Linked DNA regions of Homo sapiens: regions 1, 2 and 4 are each linked to region 3. The links are contacts of gene promoters, found by promoter capture Hi-C in human tissues and cell types (Jung and others, 2019). All regions are on one chromosome and are shown on one strand. Each heading gives the region's core, a stretch centred on a gene start or on the middle of the fragment in contact. The rest is flanking DNA. Distances are from core to core; before and after follow the strand shown. Region 1 overlaps LOC105374040 (a long non-coding RNA gene). Region 2 overlaps LOC107984087 (a long non-coding RNA gene). Region 3 holds the start of TAGLN3 (transgelin 3). Region 4 has its middle 85 kb from the start of PLCXD2-AS1.

Region 1 (2,966 bases), core at 330-2,829, 140 kb after region 3:
CCCCCCAACAGGCCTCAGGGTGTGATGTTCCCCTCCCTGGGTCCATATGTTCTCATTGTTCAACTCCCACTTATGATGAGAACATGCAGTGTTTGGTTTTCTGTTCCTGTGTTAGTTTGCTGAGAATGATGGTTTCCAGCATCATCCACGTCCCTGCAAAGGACATGAATTCATTCTTTTTTATGGCTGCATGGTATTCCATGGTGTATATGTGCCACATTTTCTTCATCCAGTCTATCATTGATGGGCACTTGGGTTGGTTCCAAGTCTTTGTTATTGTGAACAGTGCTGCAATAAACATACGTTTGTATGTGTCTTTATAGTAGAATGATTTATAATTCTTTGGGTATATACCCAGTAATGGGATTGCTGGGTCAAATGGTATTTCTAGTTCTAGATCCCTGAGGAATCGCCACACTGTCTTCCACAATGGTTGAACTAACTTATACTCCCACCAACAGTGTAAAAGCGTTCCCATTTCTCCACATTCTCTGCAGCGTCTGTTATTTCCTGACTTTTTAATGATTGCCATTCTAACTGGCGTGAGATGGTATCTCGTTGTGGTTTTGATTTGCATTTCTGTAATGACTAGTGATGATGAGCTTTTTTTCATATGTTTGTTAGGAATGCCGGGTTTTTTAGAGGAATTCTTTTCCCTGTCCTGAGTTTTTGCCCTGCAGAAGCATACATACACTGATCAATCCAACAGTTAAACAGTTAAGTGCTCCAGCAATGTTCTTTTCTCACCCACGTCATCTCTTTCCTCCTCTTTTTTGGATCATCCCCATAAACATACAATCATTTTATTTCCATTACCTTGGAATTTTTTTTTCTTTTCTTTTCTTTTTTTTTTTTTTGAGACAGGGCCTCACTTTGTCACCCAGGTTGGAGTGCAATGGCACAGTCATAGCTCACTGCAGCCTTAACCTCCTGGGCTCAAGTGATCCTCCCACTTCAGCCTCCTGAATAGCTGGGACCACAGGTGCAGACCACCATGCCCAGCTAATATTGAATTTTTTGCAGAGATGGGGTTTCACCACATTGCCCAGACTGTTCTTGAACTCCTGGGCTCAAGCGATCTGTCTGCCTCCGCCACCCTAAGTGTTGGGATGACAGGTGTGAGCCACTGTGCCCAGCCTCCTACTTCCCCTTTATCACTCACTTAGCCCCTGCCACAGTGGCCTCGTAGACTAGATTCCTAGGTAAATCCGTTCTATCTCAGGGCCTTTGTTCTAATTGCCCTCTCTGCCTATAATTCCCTCCTCCCAAGTATCTGCATGGTTCACTCCCTCACTTCCTTCAAGACCCTGTTCAATGTCACCGTGTTGCTCAGGCCTGCTCTGACCACTCTACTTAAAAGTTTAAAATGTGTTTTCCATACTACTTAAATTTACTTTTTGACAAAGTCACCACATTCTACTATATTGTAAAATGTACTTTTTAAATTATGTTTATTGTCTGTCTCTCCTCACTAGAATGTAAGGCAGGCAGGCAGAGAGTTTTGCCTGTTCTCTCCAGTGCTATATCCCTAGTGTGCCTACAAGGATACCGGACATGTAAATGGTGCTCAAGAATAAATGATGGCTTTGACCCAAAGCACTGTGTTGCAAACATTTCCTTGCCTCGAGCAATGCCAGAAATACACTTGACTACACAGACATCTTAGAGACAACCTTTCTCCCTTCAGGTCTAAGGAGAATGTGCACCAACACAGCACATTTAGAATGGCCATAATTAGATTGCCAATATTTATGTCTAAGAAAAAAATAGCTAAATTTATTGAGAGCAATAATTACTATTGTATACGTATCCGGTATTCTTCCAAATATAGGACAATATTAGTTGATGCGGTGAGAGTTACTGTTTGTTACTACTCCCATTTTATAAGTAAAAAAGGAATCACAGAGAAGTCAGTTGTCACTCAGGTAATAAGTTGGTAGAGGCAGAATTTGAGCACTTGTTCTTGAGTTCATTGTCTTTAATGCTACCTTCTACCTCTTTTCTAAGTATGAATGTTACTAGGGGATATTTCTGTATAATGAATAATTCCAAATTACTAGACAAAAAGTAATCCTCACTGGCCTCCCTTCACTGCCTTGTTTTATCTGCTAGCATCTCTATCTCTTAGGATAGCCAAGCTCCTAGAAGGCAAAGGGAGTCATTTTATTCATATTTGTATGAATCATACTCCAAGACTTATATATGGAAGGGACTCAAAAAGTAGTCATTGAATGTGACTTTTTCAAGTGACTAAACCCAGCAAAGTTTCCCATTCCTGATGAGTTAGAGTGGTTTTCAATAGCTTTCATAAGGCCATAGCAGCCTGAAGATAGACGAGACCACCCTGAAGGTGCAAGTCTTAAATTAGATAAATTCAGTCCAGGCTCAATGGCTCATGCCTGTAATCCCAACACCTTGGGAGCCGAGGTAGCAGGATTGCTTGAGATTAGAAGTTCCAGAGCAGCCTGGCCAACATGGCAAAACCCGTCTCTACTAAAAATACAAAAATATTAGCCGGGCATGGTGGTGCACCATCTGTAGTCCCAGCTACTCAGGAGGCTGAGGTGGGAGAATCACCTGAGAATTCGAGGCTGGGTGATCCATGATCGCACCATTGCACTCCAGCCTGGGTGGCAGAGTGAGACCTTGTCGCCAAAAAAAAAAAAAAAAAAAAAAAAGACAAATGCAGACCTCAACATCTATAGAAAGCACTCAATAAAGTGCAACTGTTATTGTTATTATTATATTACCAGACTTTCTTTTAGTAATGGTGATGGAAAGAAAGAAGAAAGAAAGGAAAGAAAAGAAGGAAGGAAGCAAAGAAGGGAGGAAGGAAGGAAGGAAAAAGAGGGAAGCGCGGGAGGGGGAGAGAGAGAAAGAAAGAAAGGAAGGAAGGAAGGAAGAAAGAGAGAGTCTTTCTACCTTTTCTATTTCCTGGGTTCTTTATAATAAAGTTTTCTGTTTAA
Region 2 (3,072 bases), core at 85-2,584, 210 kb after region 3:
CAAGGGCAATTTGAACGCCCTGCCCCCAGTCAGGCTCCTCACGCCCATGGAGTCATGATAGCACTGGCTGTGGTATGAGAATTCCATTCCAAAATTCTGAAGGGGCTTTGGTTGGATAGAATCTGCCATGTGAAGATCATGGATTTCACAATATGGGGGTGGTGAGAACCAAAGAATCATTGTTTCCAAGATTTCTCAGGAACTCAGTTTTGTATTGCTCAGTTGGCTAAAGACAAGGGCCAAACAAAAATACTCAGGGCACATAGCCCCGGTGATGATAGCTTGTCCAATTTTGGCACGGCGGTAACTGCTATTTGTTGGTCGCTGTTTATAGGGTTAGACACCATATGAACTAAGCACATAATATATATTATTATCTCATGTAATTCTGAACAACTCTGCAAAGTAAGCTATTACCATTGCTATTTTACAGGTGAGAAAATGGCATTTCAGAAAAGTCAAATAACTTTCCAAAGTCCACAAAATTAATAAAGAAATTTGAACTGAGAACCATTTGAATCCAAAATCTGCACTCTCATTCACTATAGTACATGGCTTCCCATGTATATATGTCAGAGCAGTTAAATCTTTCTTCTTTTTTTAAACGGAGAATGTACTTATAGCAAAACCATTTTGTTCTTTATGGCCTCTAAAATAATCCTGACTGGAAGATATCTGCCAATTATGTAACCAACTATGAGTGGTGCCTCCTTAATTGTTGGTTGAACAAATGACTACGTAGTTCCCATAGAGAGCATATTATTACACCTTCTCAGAAAGCAGACTAATAAGGAGTTCTATTGGAGTCTATAGTCTTTTCTTCAAAGGAACTCCTAATCTGATGCCAGGCATCTGATAGAACCTTGAGCAACAGGCATAATTTGTTGTTTAGCAGAGACCTCTTTGATTGACCAGGAGTGGGGAGCACTGTTTTTTCCATCGCCTTGATAAAAATACCTGCAGTGACGATTGGGAAAAGTAAAACTCAGGGATTTGATGTGTGAACCTGGCATTCCTTTCTCACCAATATGATTCCAACAGGGAGAAGAACATAATATAGCGCTCATCGTTTCATTTCTCTACCCACGATCTTGCAATGTTTTTCCTCTGCCAACAAGGAAAGAAAATGGAGCTATTCCTTTACTGAGCACCTACTATGTGTCTGATAGGTGCTTTCCCGTAAGTTATTCTTTTACTCTTTAAAGCAGGGGTGTGTAATCTTTTGTCTTCCCTAGGCCATATTGGAAGAAGAAGAATTGTCTTGGGCCACACATAAAATACACTAACACTAACGATAGCTGATGAGCTGAAAAAAAATTGCAAAACAAATCTCCTAATGTTTTAAGAAAGTTTATGAATTGTGTTGGGCTGCTTTCAAAGCTGTCCTGGGCCTCATGAGGCTTGCAGGCTTCAGGTTGGACAAGCTTGCTTTAAAGCATCCCTGTGTGGTAGGTTTAGCTATTTCAATCTTACTGCATCATCTTAGGCTCTTTTTAGAGAGAAAGAATAAAAGGTAGATAGATGGGAGAAGTAAACAGGAGAAGAGACAAAGGGTCTTTATAAAGATCTTCTTTTCATTTAGGGAATATCAAATTAATGTCATTTAAAATAATATTGACACATGCTTTCTCCTCTTGGACTTTTCTACCTTTAGAGGACAAAGGCCTTGGTGTTAAATAGCAGACTGACACACAAAAGTCCCAGACTCTACTTCTGACCTGGGTGAATTTATCACTATGTCACTCTTAGTTTTTGGTCATAGGAAGGTAGTCATCCAGATATAACCCCATGGCATTCATAGGAAACAACATGACATCTATCCAAATTACTGCTTTGAAATGACATTAAAAAAAAAATAGCATAATGGTTTTTTCCATCCACTCGTTTCTGTGACTGAGTTTCCTTCCTTTGTCCTTTAAGCACATTTAGGGCTGAAAAGTCCCACCAATTCTCCTCCTGGAAACTAGTAACCTTCTTGGGTCAGAATGCATGAGACAAACATCTTGGTTAAAGTGAGAAGACTATTTATGGCCAGGAGTCTTGACCTGTTTCCAATTCATGCTCCCATTCCAGTCTTTGCCAGACTGGAGGATTTCTTACCCTCTATTTCTAATATATTTACTGAAAAATTTACTGCTTTATTCTCTAATGTTTATTTTGGCGGACTACAAAGTCTAAGTTTATTTAAAAACTGTAGAAAAAAATTGGTGTATCTTCAACTTGGTGATCTATTTTAGAGAAACATGCAATCAGGTTGGATTCACCCCAGAATAGATTGGGTACGCTGCCAGAGACTCGACCCCGGGGTGGTCCTTTCTTCTTGGCCGTGGCTGTGGAATGCCTCCCCTATCTCCCATGTGTCCTCTTTGAGGTGAAGTGGACCAGAAGGAAAAAGAGGAAAAAGGCAGGTCAGAAGCAGAGCCCCAGAGAACACAGAAGAGAAAGCCTAGAGTAGCCCAAGCTACCAACCATGTCTTTGAAAATGGTAGAAGTAGATTGAGCCCTCCAATTCTAGCTTGAAAGGGTTCTCATCTGTAGCAAGTGTCAGGCCACAGTCACACACCATGAAAAGTCAGGAAAAGGGTCTGTGAATGTTATGATGGAGAGAACATTCATTTTCAGCATTTGAAACCCAAGTGCAAAAAAATATCCAAAGATAAAGGAGAATATCTCACTTATAAGTTCCATTTGATTTAAAGTTAACTGTTCTCTAAAGAAATTCTGATTAAATAGCATGCTATAGAGCACACAGTAAATACTCCCAAATGGCAAATTATTAAACTTTTTAAACAGGGAACACATTCACCTTCAGTAACGCAAAAGCATGAGGATAGAAATTATAAGCTAGAGTCTCTTGGGGTATATTTGAGATATCTAAAGGCCAAGTAGGCTGTCAGTCTCTGACACTATGGCAGTTAAAGACATCCAACACAATTGTTATGTAGTAGCATAATTGTTGGTCTACTAGGCTGTCATCACCACTAAACTGTGAGATCTTTGACAGTACAACAGTCTTCACTTTAATTGCCCTTGAATCAATAGTACCTAGCATTGCGCCCCATGCAAAATAAG
Region 3 (2,746 bases), core at 1-2,500:
GTTTGAATCACAGAGCCTGCGGCCCTCAAACCCTCAAACACACACGAGCATTTGGTCAGAAATGCAGTTAACAAATAAGGACTCCTTTCAGTTTCATGAGAACGCATCCACTCAATAAACAGACACTGAACACTTCCAGGGTGCATGGCTCCCACAAGAATGTGAAGGTGGCTAGTCCCCCTCCTCCCTTCTTTGTTTTACTGTGTAACCAACACGATCCCCTAGGGAAAGAAATGGCCCCAGAAGAGCTGATGCACCAGGAAGGCTGGGGAAATTACAAGGACATACTTATCTCTATTCTCATTAGAAAAATCAAAAGGGCTTCGAATTTGCCAACTCAGAAGGGAGATGTAATGCTAGGGTGAGTGGAGAACCCCCAAGCTAGCTAGGGAATAGTGCATGGAGCCCAAATCTTCCAACCCTGAAGAAATAAAGGCATTCTCATCCCCTCCCGGTGAGACATAGAGCTTGGCAACAGCAGCTCTTCCCGCAGCCTTACGTTAAAAGAAAGGGCCCTGGAGGGTTTCCCTGCCCACCGCCCCAGCAACCGAGATCGCTGCCGGCCTTACCGTCCCGTCCATTAACCATTTCTGAAAATGGGCCCTGCCGGGGGGCGGGTGCTCTATGTCCTCGGCGCACTGCAGGATGATCCAGTCCACCAGCTTGTTCTCCAGGTCCGCATCATACTTCTGCTCGATCTTCTCCTGCACCTCTCGGCTTAAGCCATAGCTCGGGCCCCTGTTAGCCATCTCTGGAAAGAAGAGAAGACACGCGCGGCATCCACACAATAGCAGCAGCAGCAGCCTCCGGCTCCCTGCAGACGGGGCTGGGATATGGCTGGGCAACCTGGCCCAGCAGCAGCAAAGAGGGCAGAAAGCCGGGCGTGGTTTAAATCAAGGAGCCAATGAAGCCAATGGGGTTTCACCTACAAACGGGAAAGAAAAGCACAGCTACCCGCCAGTAACTCTAGAATAAACCTCCGGCCGGTCCAGGGGGGCTGGAATCCCCCTCCCTATCCCGCCTATCAATGAGACCAGATGATATAACACGGACTCACAATCAAGTCTGAACCCCCAGGCAGCAAGGGGGATGGGTGGCGGACGTTTCTTCCCCCTTCTCAGTAGCACTTTGCAAAGGCAGAAACGATGAGATCGGGAAGAGCAGGTAATTAGCAGGCAGGGAGGAAGCCTCCTTTCATGTTGAACTGCAGCCGCTGCTGCCTCGCGCCTGGAAGAATGGCACATTGATTTGATTTTCTCATGGCTGAGGGGGCTCAACCAGGGCCGTTGCTAAGAGCCCTCCAAAAAGCCAGCCCTCTCCTGTGTCAATCAAGCCCGCCTGCCTCCCTCCCGCTGAGAGCCTCTTTCTCATCTGCACAATTCTTTCCCTCTTCTGGGGAGACAGCCGATTGTCTACGAGGCCAGCAGCTGCACAAGGGGATGAGGGCCTGTGGGAGGGTCCGTTCTACCAACTGTCCATCTGTCGGGAATAGCCAAGCTACTTTCCCCCTGCCCTGAGGTAACAACTGTCTGGCAGGACAGGAGGGGAGGGACTGAGAGCTGCTATCATTTACTTGTTCAGCTGCCAGCCCAACTTCACCCAGAAACTTCCATCCTGAAACTGTTGTGCCTCAGTTTGACTTATTCAAGGGAGGTATTTTTTTCATGCTACTCTTAACTGAAAGACACTAAGAACAAGTTTTATAAATTATTATTATAATTCTTACTATATATTTTTAGACAGAGTCTCGCTCTGTTGCCCAGGCTGGAGTGCAGTGGCACAATCTCGGCTGGCTGCAACCTCTGCCTCCTGGGTTCAAGCGATTCTCCTGCCTCAGCCTCCCAGGTAGCTAGGATTACAGGTGTGTGCCACCAGGCCTGGCTAATTTTTGTATTTTTAGTGGAGATGGGGTTTTGCCACGTTGGTCAGGCTGGTCTTGAACTCCTGACCTCAGGTGATCTGACTGCCTCGGCCTCCCAAAGTTCTGGGATTACAGGCATGAGCCACCACGCCCGGCAAGTTTTATAAATTAAACAAAACTCAACGACTAAGAACTCTTAGAGTGAAAGGTTTTGATAGAATGTAAAGACTTCATCTGAAGTAAGGACCGTGAAGGCACAACCGACATATTGTCAGAAGTAACTGAATATTTCTCATGGGCAAACAAGCACTCAGGAGAAACCATTAGCTCTAAGTTGGCCCCACATTTTTATAACAGCTAAAGGGCTTGGCAGTTTGTCCTCCTAGACTGTAAGCCATTTGTGGGTAAAGATTGAGTCTCATTGGTGTTGTGTAATTCTCTGGGTGTTTTTCATGAGAAAAATTCCACATTTTTTTTCGTTTGGTTCATTTCTTCATTCAACAGATATTTACTGAGTGTTTATGCCAACTACTGGACTGAGGAGGAATAAAATACAATTCTTGCATTGAAAACAGATTGATAAATTGACTCAAGCATATTAAATAAAGCAATTCTGGGTACATGGGATGATGATCTTTGTCCCTGTGGGAAATTGATTAGAAGCTATGCAGGAAATGACTCCTCAAATAATACATGTATTGAGAAAAATCTCCTACCGGCTGATGCCTGGACTAATGAAAATTTAATTACTTAGGAGATATGTGGGTGGTTTGCCTGAAAAAGACTTAGCGGTCAGTCGTTGAAGGCCTGGCAGACAGTCCTCTGAAAACAGAAAACTAGGAGATTCAGGAGAGCAGTAGGTTTAGGAAGAGACAAGGGAAGGGC
Region 4 (2,885 bases), core at 48-2,547, 240 kb after region 3:
TACTTCATCAGATCTTCCCTGTAGCCCTATGAGGTAAATGTTACTATCTCCATTTTATAAACGGGAAAGTGGATTTAAAGAGGTTCCATAGCTTGTCAAAGGTCACACAACTTGAGTAGCGGTGTCAAAGGTCATGTGCAGGTCTGTCTGAATCCAGAGTTATACCATTACCAGAAGGCCAAACTGCTTCCTTTCTATTTTGGCATTATATTTTCTTGAGCAAACATAGCCATAACTGCTTGTCTTCGTCTGTTCGGGCTGCTTTAACAATTTATCATAGACTGGGTAGCTTAGAAAAAACAGAATTCATTCCTCACAGTTCTAGGAACTGGGAAGTCTAAGATCAAGGCACCAACAGATTCAGTGTCTGGTGAGGGACTGTTTCCTGGTTCACGAATGGTGCCTTCTCACTGTGTCATCATGTGGTAGAAGGGGCTGGCCTGCTCTGGGGTCTCTTTTATGAGGGCACTAATCCTAATCACAAGGGCTTTGTCCTCGTGATCGAATCACCTCCTAATACTACAACCTAATACCATCACCTAGGATCTCAAAACATGAATTTCTGGGGATACAAACATTCAGATTATAGCACTGCTCTTTTCCTTGCAGTAGAGTAGTAGTTGTAGTAACAATAATAATAAAAATAAATAGTAATAGCAAGACATATGGGGCTTACTATGTATCAGGAACTGCCCTAAGCACTTGATAATTTATTAAGTAATTTATTCCTAGGAAAATCTCACAATGTACAGTTGATGACAAGTCCCACTTACAGATGAGCGAACTAAAACATGAAGAGTGTGAGTAAATTGCCCTAGGTCACCCAGCTAGAAAGTGGTAGAGGTGGAAATGAAAGTCAAACAGTTGGGCTCCAAAGCCCTGTGCAGTTTGCAGTTCGCTATTATGTTAGAGTAACTTGTCATAGAAATAACTCACTCAAGGGAAATTCACTGTATTGTTCACACAGCATAAACAGTGTGTGAAGAGTTGACTCTCCAGGGGAGAAGAATGCTAGGGAGTCAATGAATCAAATACCTAAAATCCTTGATTTGCATTGTCCAGTTTCCTAACATACTCACTTTCAGGCAGGATCATAAAGCTCAGTGCAGCTATGGCTCCCTGCCTTTCCTTGGGGCTGCCTGTAGAAGTGCTGGGAGACATGCAAGGATTCTTGCAGGTGCAGAAGAGGGTGGGCTCTCAGAGCTATATACCCTGCACCAAACAGGCAGCTAGTTTTAATCTTTCCATTTCTCTTCTCACTTCTTAGTCATTGCTCTCCTTTTTCAAAAAAGGAGAATTAATTCTTTGGAACTCTTAGGAACCAGAGGGCTTTGAGTCTGCAATGTTTATGAATCTGCTGAGAGTGCTGGGAAATGAGGCTTCTTTTTTGCACATGAAGTCATATTTTAACCCAAACCAAAAGAAAAAAAAGAGAAAGATTATTTGAGAGTCTGTGGGGATCAGAGCTGGGTATTGTGTTACAGAAATTTTCCATTTCAGACACAAACTACGTACAGCAGTATGTGAGCCAAAAAAGGCCAAGAGAGACTCCAGGAGGGCTTGAAGAAATAATACCTCCTCCTTTAATCCTGACGAGTGTGGCCAGGTTCTTGGGAGGGCTGGGTGGAAGGTCTGGATCAGATCACACTTAGAGGCCTGTGATTAGAATGATGATAATTGTGGCATCACAAGGCATAACTTCAGAGCGCTCCCTAGGATGCCCTTGGGCAAGGTACTTAACCCTTCTGTGCCTTAGTTTCCAATATCTGAAAATGGGATAAACACCTCAAAATTTATTGACAGTGTCAAAACATTACACATATTGGCTATATAATAATAATATGGTAATGCTAGTTATATAATTAAATAATACATATAGTTAGCATTTATTGAGGCCTTACTATACATGAGCTATTGTGTTAAAGCTTCCTAAACATTATCTTCTTTAAACTTCACAACAGTCCTCTGAGATCAATTGTGTTATCCTTCCAGTACTGCAGTTTAGAAAAGTAAGTGACTGACTTAAGTTTATCACCTTAGGTAGTAGACTTGGATCTCAAATCTAAGTCTAGTCTGGCACCAAAACCCATGCAATGAACTAATAGCTAAGACGCTGGTCTGGTTCTCAGCTGAATGTGGCGGATGGGATTGGGGGGGCATCCCTTTTTGGATAAAATGTGTTCCTCTGACCCCTCATCCTCTCTTTTAGCAGTGCCCCTTTTAGGTGAACATACAAGCACCTATTTTAAGGAAATGTCAGGCTGGGGGTAATTACTCTGTAATTCTTCTTATGTATACACATTAAATAAATTTGTATGCTTTTTCTGCTATTAAAAAAAAATGTTGGGCTGGTTTTCCAGGTAAATAAACCAGTCATGGCCTCTGTGGCTCAATTCTGAAACCGGTATTGCCTAAAGCAGTGGGTCTTATGGTGTGGTATCCCCGACCAGCATCACCTGGGAACTTGTTAGAGCTAAAAATTCTCTTGCCCCACCCACATGTACTGAATCAGAAATTCTGGGTGTGTAGATCAGCAATCCTGTTTTAACAAGCCCTTGAAGTGATCTGAATGCAGCTGAAGTTTGAGAACGACTGGCCTCTGGGGTAGATAAAGCAGAGAGTTAAATCAGGAATAGAGATCTAACTATGATTCTTAACAGCTGCTAGTGACTCATTCTCCCTAGTCATTCTCTTCTGAGTTTCTGCCTTTTTAGGATGAAGGATTTGTTCACGTCCCATCTTGTGTGATAAATTTCATCAACAGTGTCAGTTCCTTTCTGAATCAATGCCGTGTATAAGGAGACTTTGAGCTTTATACACTCCCATGTGTACCCATACCCACTTCTGCTTTTGGAACCACTTGCTCATTTCCCATTGTGGATGAT

Evidence for each region. Contacts are between HindIII fragments. The study calls those that stand out against the background at their distance.
Region 1: a fragment that was not itself captured here is called in contact with the fragment with the promoter of TAGLN3 in region 3 in 2 of the 25 tissues and cell types used here (heart left ventricle and mesenchymal stem cells).
Region 2: a fragment that was not itself captured here is called in contact with the fragment with the promoter of TAGLN3 in region 3 in 1 of the 25 tissues and cell types used here (bladder).
Region 4: a fragment that was not itself captured here is called in contact with the fragment with the promoter of TAGLN3 in region 3 in 1 of the 25 tissues and cell types used here (IMR-90 fibroblasts).

The regions. Positions count from the first base shown.
Region 1 is chr3:111,855,342-111,858,307 of GRCh38, reverse strand. All of the region lies in intron 1 of LOC105374040 (a long non-coding RNA gene), which reads left to right. It also overlaps a transcript of PHLDB2 not described here. Among named protein-coding and RNA genes, the nearest start is that of PHLDB2, 2.4 kb to the left of the region's middle. The HindIII fragment of the contact is 6,150 bases long and covers 1-2,966 here.
Region 2 is chr3:111,786,998-111,790,069 of GRCh38, reverse strand. LOC107984087 (a long non-coding RNA gene) reads left to right here. Exons shown (of 4, transcript XR_001740848.2): 3 at 1,042-1,179. It also overlaps a transcript of PHLDB2 not described here. Among named protein-coding and RNA genes, the nearest start is that of PHLDB2, 71 kb to the left of the region's middle. The HindIII fragment of the contact is 3,817 bases long and covers 1-3,072 here.
Region 3 is chr3:111,997,426-112,000,171 of GRCh38, reverse strand. TAGLN3 (transgelin 3) reads right to left here and starts at 1,250. Exons shown (of 5, transcript NM_001008272.2): 1 at 1,058-1,250; 2 at 570-751. The coding sequence starts at 749. The HindIII fragment of the contact is 6,637 bases long and covers 1-2,746 here.
Region 4 is chr3:111,761,317-111,764,201 of GRCh38, reverse strand. It overlaps a transcript of PHLDB2 not described here. Among named protein-coding and RNA genes, the nearest start is that of PLCXD2-AS1, 85 kb to the right of the region's middle. The HindIII fragment of the contact is 9,920 bases long and covers 1-2,885 here.